Regions from separate parts of the Homo sapiens genome. Here all the other regions are linked to region 1. The links are contacts of gene promoters, found by promoter capture Hi-C in blood cells and fetal thymus (Javierre and others, 2016). All regions are on one chromosome and are shown on one strand. Each heading gives the region's core, a stretch centred on a gene start or on the middle of the fragment in contact. The rest is flanking DNA. Distances are from core to core; before and after follow the strand shown.

Region 1 (2,685 bases), core at 123-2,622:
CAGAGGAGATTGCTTTACTTCTTTCCCAATTGCACAGAGGCAATTAGCAGAAGTAATTAATAGTGTTACTTCGAGAATGCTGTGGCTGCTTGATTTATTTTCAAATCAAATAGAAAATTATAGTGTCCCCTTAACAAATTCACAGGTGTACTTGACATTTCTAAGTTTAATGACTAGGTTTTTTTTAGATAATGCAATATTTTGACATTGTCTAAAAATAACAGGATATTGATTTCTTAAAAAGGCAATTATACGATGAATATATTAATATTTACTAATATTTTAGACTATAATACATTTTAGAAAGCAGGAGAAAGAGTTGCCAGCATTTGGTGTCATAAGTTTTAGGGCATGGTACAAACCACTAATATGTTATACATATACTATAATACATGTACTAGTAAATGCCAAAACAAAGTAACAACCATTTCATCTTGAGTTGTGAATGCACATGTTGACTAAAAATTTTATGAAATTACAAACTAAAATTATATAAACTAATTTTAAAGAACTTAATATAAGTTATAAGTTAATAAGACTTTACTTAGAGTGACATGAAGATGCATTTTTCAAAATTATTTTAAAAATAAAATTTGAAGAATAGTGAAAGTACTAACTGAAATATATCTTTAAAACTGTAAACATTGTTGAAGTAGTGCTTTTATCCTATCAAGTTCTACTCAAGTCATTTAACCATATATAAGTAAAGACATAAAAATAGTAATATTATATTTAATGTGCTTTTCTATGCTGTATGTAACATCTTTCTCACATTTTCTTTATTTATATAATTCATTACTTTCAGGTATGGTAATTGGCCACCTGCTGTGTGTCCTTGAGAAAGATGTTATTATTACTTGTTCTAGTTGCTTTTCCAAAAGGATATAAGAAAAGTATGAGATAGATTTTTTTTTTTTACATTTCTTCTAGCTTTAAAATTCTATGGGTTCTATAATCCTATCTCTTGTCTTTTTCTCTCCCCTCCCGTGGAGTCTGATATCCTTTGTTCATCTTTTTTACAAATTTGAAGCAGACTAGTTGGCAAAGTGTCAGTTCTTTGACAATCTGTGATAATATATTATTTTCTGCAAATGTTACCAAATGAATAGCTAGTAAAATTTTTTCTTTTTATGATTCCAAACTCGCTGAGTTTGATGAAAAGAATCTAATAGTTGGCATTTTTATCTCTAAATGTCATCAGTTTAATCTTTGTAACAAGTTCATTTATATAATAAACCTTAAATCTCTTTATACTCACACAAATGCAATGCAGGGGAAATCACTGTCCTTGCTCTCTTGATTCCTTCTTTGTTGACAGGATAGATGAGAAAATCTGTGCTTCTTTCAGATGAATTGTTTTCCAAGTGGTAACTTTTCTATATTAACATACTCTCTACCATATGTTTTTCTTTTCTACACAATCTTCATATAACCACATTATTTTTGAGGTTAAGTTTAATATCTAAACACCATTGAATCCATTCCATAATCAAGATATTTAGATTGTAGTTAGTTTTAATTTGAAGAATTTTGGTGGTGTTTCTATTAAATACATAATAAATGTAACAGTAACTCCGACTATCTGAGTCTCTTTTTTTAATGACCTGGTACCTATTTGTGTCAGTGTCCTAAAATCTTCACATTGTGAAGTCACATACATGTGGTATGGAAATTATTTTTTCAGTCAAAAATATGTAAATCTTTACTTTGCAATTGTACTCTGATAAAGTAGCTCAGTTTGAGGGAAAAAAATAAAACAAGCCTTTGTTTTTCTTCTGAAGGCAGTATTTGCATGGCTTTCATATGGTATACATGTTTGCATAGGAAATTTGTCTTTAGTTTCGCATCTGCCCAGATTATAGCCTTTAGTTTCAATGATTCAAAGCTTATGTGGAAGACACTTAAAATACTTAAAAGCTACATACTATTATTTTATGATTTCAGCTAATCAAGGCGCAACTTTTAATGTATGAACAACATCTTTATCAAGTCAAGCAGATAATGAAGGGAAATTATCAAACTATGCTCTCTTTTTTAAAGTAATGGGCCTAAAATTGGACAGATATACTTGAAGTGGCGAAGGAGGAAAATATTATACAACCACTTCATCTGTCCAGATTATTTGAGCCTTTCCTGTATCAATGAAACATCAGCTGTTGCGGTGAGAGCATTTTAATGCACATCCTATTTTACGATCTAGATGCATTAATGATTAATTTATTGAATATGTTTTGTTTTCTATGCTGTAACACTGGCATATCAAAAACTTCAATAGATTGTCACATTTTAACTCTGGACCTTTGGGTTTTAGTGCAAATAATTAACTCTTTACTACTCACATAGCCTCAAATGTGTTTAAGTATTATTACAGGGAGAAATATATTGCTTTACTAAGTAGTTTTACTTGATATTTTACTAAACTCCGTTAAATATATGCTATGTATGTAGTATTTGAAATGTGATACATCTATAAAGGAAAATATTTAGCATAATTGTTAGCTTTACCCAAACAATTTTGAAAGTTAGGTTATTTATTTTCTTTTTGTCTCAGTGTGTATACTTAATGTCCCTCTTGTGCTACACACAATGACTGAAGAAATGTAAGCTTCATGAGAAGAAACATTCACATAGAAATCTTGATCAATTTCTCAGAATTAATAAATCAAAGGGAAATGCTGATACTGT
Region 2 (2,685 bases), core at 121-2,620, 410 kb after region 1:
GCCCAAGGCCTTGGGAGCCCCCCATTTGCATCAGAATGTCCTGAATGTGAGACATGGAGTTAAAGATGATAATTTTGGAGCTTTAAGATGTAATGACTGCCTGTTGGATTTTGAACTTGAATGGGGGCTGTAGCCCCTTTGTTTTGGCCAATTTCTCCCATTGTAATGGGGACATTTATCCAATACCTGCACTTCCATTGTATCTTGGAAGTATCTAAATTGCCTTTGATTTGACAGGCTCATAGGCAGAAGGGACTTGCCTTGTCTCAGATGAAACTTTGGATTTGGATTTTAGGTTAATTCTGATATGACTTAAGACTGGGGGACTGTTGGGAAGGCATGATTGGTTTTGAAAAGTGAGGACATAAGATTTGGGAGAGCTTGGGGAGGAATAATATGGTTTGGCTGAATCCCCACCCAAATCCCAATTTGTAATTGTAATGCCCTTAATCCCCATGTTTCGAGTGAGGGACCTGGTGGGAGGTGATTGAATGATGGCAGCAGTTTTCCCCATGCTGTTCTTGTGATAGTGAGGGAGTTCTCACAAGATCTGATGGTTTTATAAATGGCAGTTCCCCCTGGGCTTTTTGTTCTCTCTCACCTGCCACCATGTGAGAAGTATCTGCTTCTCCTTCTGCCATAATTGCAAATTTCCTGAGGACTCCCCAGTCATGCAGAACTCTGTGTCAATTAAACCTCTTTTTTAAAAAATAAATTATCTAGTCTCAATAGTTCTTTATAGTACTGTAAGACTGAACTAATACACTGTTCCATCACAGGCCCAAAGACCTAGGAGGGAAAAATGTTTTCATGGGCTGGGCTCAGGGCCCTGCTGCTCTGTGCAGCTTGGGGACAGGGTGCCCTTTGTCTTAGCCACTCCAGCTCCAGCTGTGGCTATAAAGAGCCAAGGTACAGCTTTAGCCATTGCTTCAGAGGTTGCAAGCCCCAAGCCTTGGTAGCTTCCATGTGGTGTTGGGCCTGCAGGTGTGCAGAACACAAGAGATGAGCTTTGGGAGCCTCCACCTAAATTGCAGAGGATGTATGGAAAGGCCTGGATGTCCAGGCAGAAGTCTGTTGCAGGGATGAAGCCGTTATGGAGAACCTAGTGCAATGCAGAAGAGAAAAGTTGGGTTGGAGCTCCCAACACAGAGCATCCACTGGGCCACTGCCTAGTGGATCTGTGAGAAGAGGGCCACCATCCTGCAGACCCCAGAATGGTAGATCCACCATGGCTTGCACAGTGATACTGGAAAAGTCACAAACATTCAACAACAGCCCATGAAAGCAGGTGCAGGGATTGTACCCTGTAGAACCACAAAAGCAGAGCTGCCCCAGGCCTTGGGAGCCCACCTCTTGCATCAGCAAGTCCTGGGTTTTAGACATGAGGTCAAAGGAGATTTTTTTGATGTTTTGGATTTAATAACTGCCCTGTAGGTTTTCCGACTTGTATGGGGCCTGTAGCCCATTTGTTTTGACCAATTTCTCCCTTTTGGAACAGGAGCATTACTCAATGCCTGTACACCCATTGTACCTTAGAAGTAACTAACATACTTTTGATTTTAGAGGCTCACAGGTGGAAGGGCCTTCCCTTGTTTCAAGTGAGACTTTCGACTTGGACTTTTGGTTTAATGCTGAAATTAGTTAAGACTTTGCGGGACTGTTGGGAAGGCATAATTGTGTTTTGAAATGTGAGCATTATATCTGATTTGGGAGGAGCTGGGGCAGAATAACATGGTTTGGCTCTGTGTCCTCAACCAAATCTCATCTTGAATTGTAAACTCCATGTGTCCTGGGAGGAAACTGGTGGGAGGTGATTAGATTATGGGGGTGGTTTCCCCCATGCTGTTCTCACAATAGTGAGTGAGTTTTCATGTGATCTGATGGTTAAAAAGTGTTTTTCAGTTCCCCCCTTGCTCTCTCTCTCCTGCTGCCATGTAAGACATGCCTTGTTTCCCCTTCTCCTTCCACCATGATTGTTAGTTTCCCGAGGCCTCCTCAGCCATGCAGAACTGTGAGTCAGTTAATCCTCTTTTGTTTACAAATCTCCTAGTCTCAGGTAGTTTTTTCAGCAATGCAAAAACAGACTAATGTAGTTATTCAAACATTTTGTCTACACAGTAAAGATTCTAAACTGTTTATTTCTCACAAGTCTTATGCGTATGTGTGTGTGTGTATTTCTCTACTAAACCTGCACTGAAAGAGGAAAACATTATTAAAGTCATATAGCAATTGAAGACATGACCTTCAGCAAGTAATATTCATAATTAACAAATATTACAATTATATTTTGTTAATCAAGATGGAGAAAAACTAAAAAAAAAACCTTAAACTATAAATATGGAAAGAAGAAACAAAGAAAGAAGAAAGAAAGAGAGAGAAAGAGAGAAAGAAAGAAAGGAAGGAAGGAAGGAAAGAAAGAAAGAAAGAGAAAGAAAGAAAGAAAGAAAGAAAGAAAGAAAGAAAGAAAGAAAGAAAGAAAGAAAGAAAGAAAAGAAAGAAGCAGAAAAGGAAATTTAATTACAGGTGCCTTTTCAGTGCTTCCCATACTTTAGAATAAATTTCTTCTAGTTTTCCAGCTGTGAAGGCAGCCATTGTTCTCAGGGGAGCTAATTATACTAAGAAGCTCGCCTTCCTGGTGGGCTCTAATAAGCACAGTTCATTGCAGAACTTTACCAGTGTGTGTCA
Region 3 (2,685 bases), core at 69-2,568, 340 kb after region 1:
CAAACCCTCCAATAACTGTACCATAAGCCACTGAGGAAATCACAGATACAATTGATGTTGTTTATAGCTGAAGAAATCACACACTAATGACATTAATGCATGCACTCAGGATCAAATCCAAAGTGTCCAACCCAACAAACATCATAGATATAACTTTAGGAAAATGTCTTCCCTTAGGAAAGTTACTTTAAAAATAGGAAAGAGTGACTGTAACACATGCACAGATATCAACCTAAGAATACAAGCAACATAAAAAAGTAAGGAAATATGGCTTATGAAATCATAGAAAAAGATTTTAAAATATAATATTGAAGAAGCTCAGAAAGTACATAATAATAAACCATATAATTAAATCAGAAAAGCAATCCAGGGTAGAGTAAGAAATTTGACAAAGAGATAAACATTATGAACCAAATGGAAATCTGGAACTGAAGAATTCATTGAATGAAATACAAAATATATTCAAAAGCCTCAAAAACTGACTAAATCCAGCAGAAGTATCTCAGGATTTGAAGGCCAGTCCTTTGAGATAACCAAGACAAAAATTTGAAATAAGGAGTTTTAAAAAAATGAACACAGCATATGTAACATATGGAACACCATAAAGCAACACAATCTTTGAACTTTTGGTGTCCCAGAAGGCAAAGAGAAAATGAAAATGATAGAAAACTTAGTGAGAGAAATAATACTGACAACTTTCCAGGACTAGCAAGAAATACAGATATCCAAATATAGGAAAAGTCTCAAAAGTTACCACTACAGAAGACCACCAAATCACAATAATAAATGATAAGAGAAAAAGAAAAAGGCTATCCAAAACAACCAGAAATCAATTAATACAATGCTAACAATAAGCTCCTGCATATCAATAATAACCTTGAATGTAAACTACATTAAACTTTTGATTTAAAGATATAGACTAGCTGAATGGATTAAAAAAGGACCCAACTATATGCTGCCTACAAGAAACCTCGTCATATTTGTAGACATATATAACCTAAAGTAATAAGATGAAAAAAGAAATATTTTAAAATGGAAATCAAAATTGAGCATGAGTAGTCATACTTAAGTTAGATAAAATAGACTTTAAGTCAAAAACAGTAAAAAGAGACAAAAAATTATAAAATGATAAAAGGATCAATTCGGCAAGAGGATGTAACAATTCTAAACATATTTACCCAACACAGAACACTCAAATATATAAAGCAAATATTACTAGATTTAAAGGGAGAGATAGGCTCAAATACAGTAATATTTGGGGACTTCAACACCATACTGTCAGCATTAGACAGAACACATAGACAGAAAATTAGAACCCTCACCCGCCAAAACATAGAAGAGATAGTAAAACAAAAATGCATTTTTAAAGGTAAACAAAATGGATAACCTACTTTCTAGATGACCAAGAAAATTACTTCTCCTCAATTATTTCAAAAAACTCAAGAGGAGGGAATTCTCTCTAACTTAGTCTACCAGGCCAGCATTAATCTGATACCAAAACCACACTAAGATGCAAGAACAAAAAAAAAAAAAAAGAAAAGAAAAGAAAACTGAAAGCTCATATTCTTGACAAACATATATGCAAAAGTCCTCAAGAAAATACTAAAAAATTGAATCTAACAGCACATCAAAACTATAATACATCATGATCAAGTAGGATTTATCCCAGGATGCAAGGATGTTTCAACATACACAAATCAATAAATGTGATAAACCACATCAACAGAATCAAGGGCAAAATCAGTATGATCTTCTCAATAGATACAGAAAAGCACTTGATAAGATTTAACATCTCTTTATAATTAAAAGTCTCAACAAACTAGACATAGAAGGAACATATTCAACATAAGAAAGGCCACATATAACAAACCCACAGTCAATATCATACTAAATGGGGAAAAACTGAAAGTCAAATTGTCCTTCTTTGCTAATTATATAATCTTGTATCTAGAAAAACCTATAGACTTTCCCAGTAAACCTTTTAGATTTGATAAACAAATTCAGTAAAGTTGCAGGATACAAAATCAACATAGAAAAATCAGTAGCATTTGTATACACCAATAATTAATTAGCTGAGAAAAAAAAGCAATTGCATTTACAATATCTATTAAAAAATAAAATATCTGGGGATAAATGTAATAAAGACGGTGAAAGATCTCCATGAGGAAAACTATAAAACACCAATAAAAGAAACTGAAGAGGATATAAATGGATTAGAGAACTAATATTGATAAAATGATCATATATCCCAAAGCAATCTACAGATTCAATTCAAAATCCATTAAAATGCCAACATCATTTTTTACAGAATTATAAAAAAAATCCTAAAGTTCATTGGAACCAAAAAATACCCCACATAGCCAAAGCAATTCTGAGCAAAAGGAACAAAGCTGGAGATATAACACTACCTGACTTCAAAATATATTACAAGGCTATAAAGAAAAGCAGTTTGGTATTGGTATAAAAACAGACATGGAACAATTTAACAGACTAGAGTTAAATAAAAAAACATGTATTTACAGCCAACTGATTTTTGACTGAGGCATAAAGAACATTCAGTGGGAAAGATATTTTCTTCAACACATGGTTCTGGGAAAACTGGATATTCACATGTAGAAGAAGGAAACAGCACCCTTATCTTTCACCATACACAAAAATCAACCAAAGATAAATTAAAGACTTAAA

What was found. The method cuts DNA at HindIII sites, captures the fragments that hold promoters and counts their contacts. A CHiCAGO score of 5 or more calls a contact.
Region 2: a contact is called between a fragment that was not itself captured here and the fragment with the promoter of RGS21 in region 1, in 1 of 17 cell types (neutrophils). The highest score is 6.1, in neutrophils.
Region 3: a fragment that was not itself captured here is called in contact with the fragment with the promoter of RGS21 in region 1 in 2 of 17 cell types (M0 macrophages and endothelial precursors); the score reaches 5.3 in M0 macrophages.

What each region holds. Positions count from the first base shown.
Region 1 is chr1:192,315,679-192,318,363 of GRCh38, reverse strand. RGS21 (regulator of G protein signaling 21) reads right to left here and starts at 1,372. Exons shown (of 5, transcript NM_001039152.3): 1 at 1,259-1,372. The HindIII fragment of the contact is 2,232 bases long and covers 1-1,887 here.
Region 2 is chr1:191,907,296-191,909,980 of GRCh38, reverse strand. All of the region lies in intron 5 of LINC02770 (long intergenic non-protein coding RNA 2770), which reads right to left. Among named protein-coding and RNA genes, the nearest start is that of LINC02770, 180 kb to the right of the region's middle. The HindIII fragment of the contact is 7,214 bases long and covers 1-2,685 here.
Region 3 is chr1:191,979,978-191,982,662 of GRCh38, reverse strand. All of the region lies in intron 9 of LINC02770 (long intergenic non-protein coding RNA 2770), which reads right to left. Among named protein-coding and RNA genes, the nearest start is that of RGS18, 180 kb to the left of the region's middle. The HindIII fragment of the contact is 6,034 bases long and covers 1-2,685 here.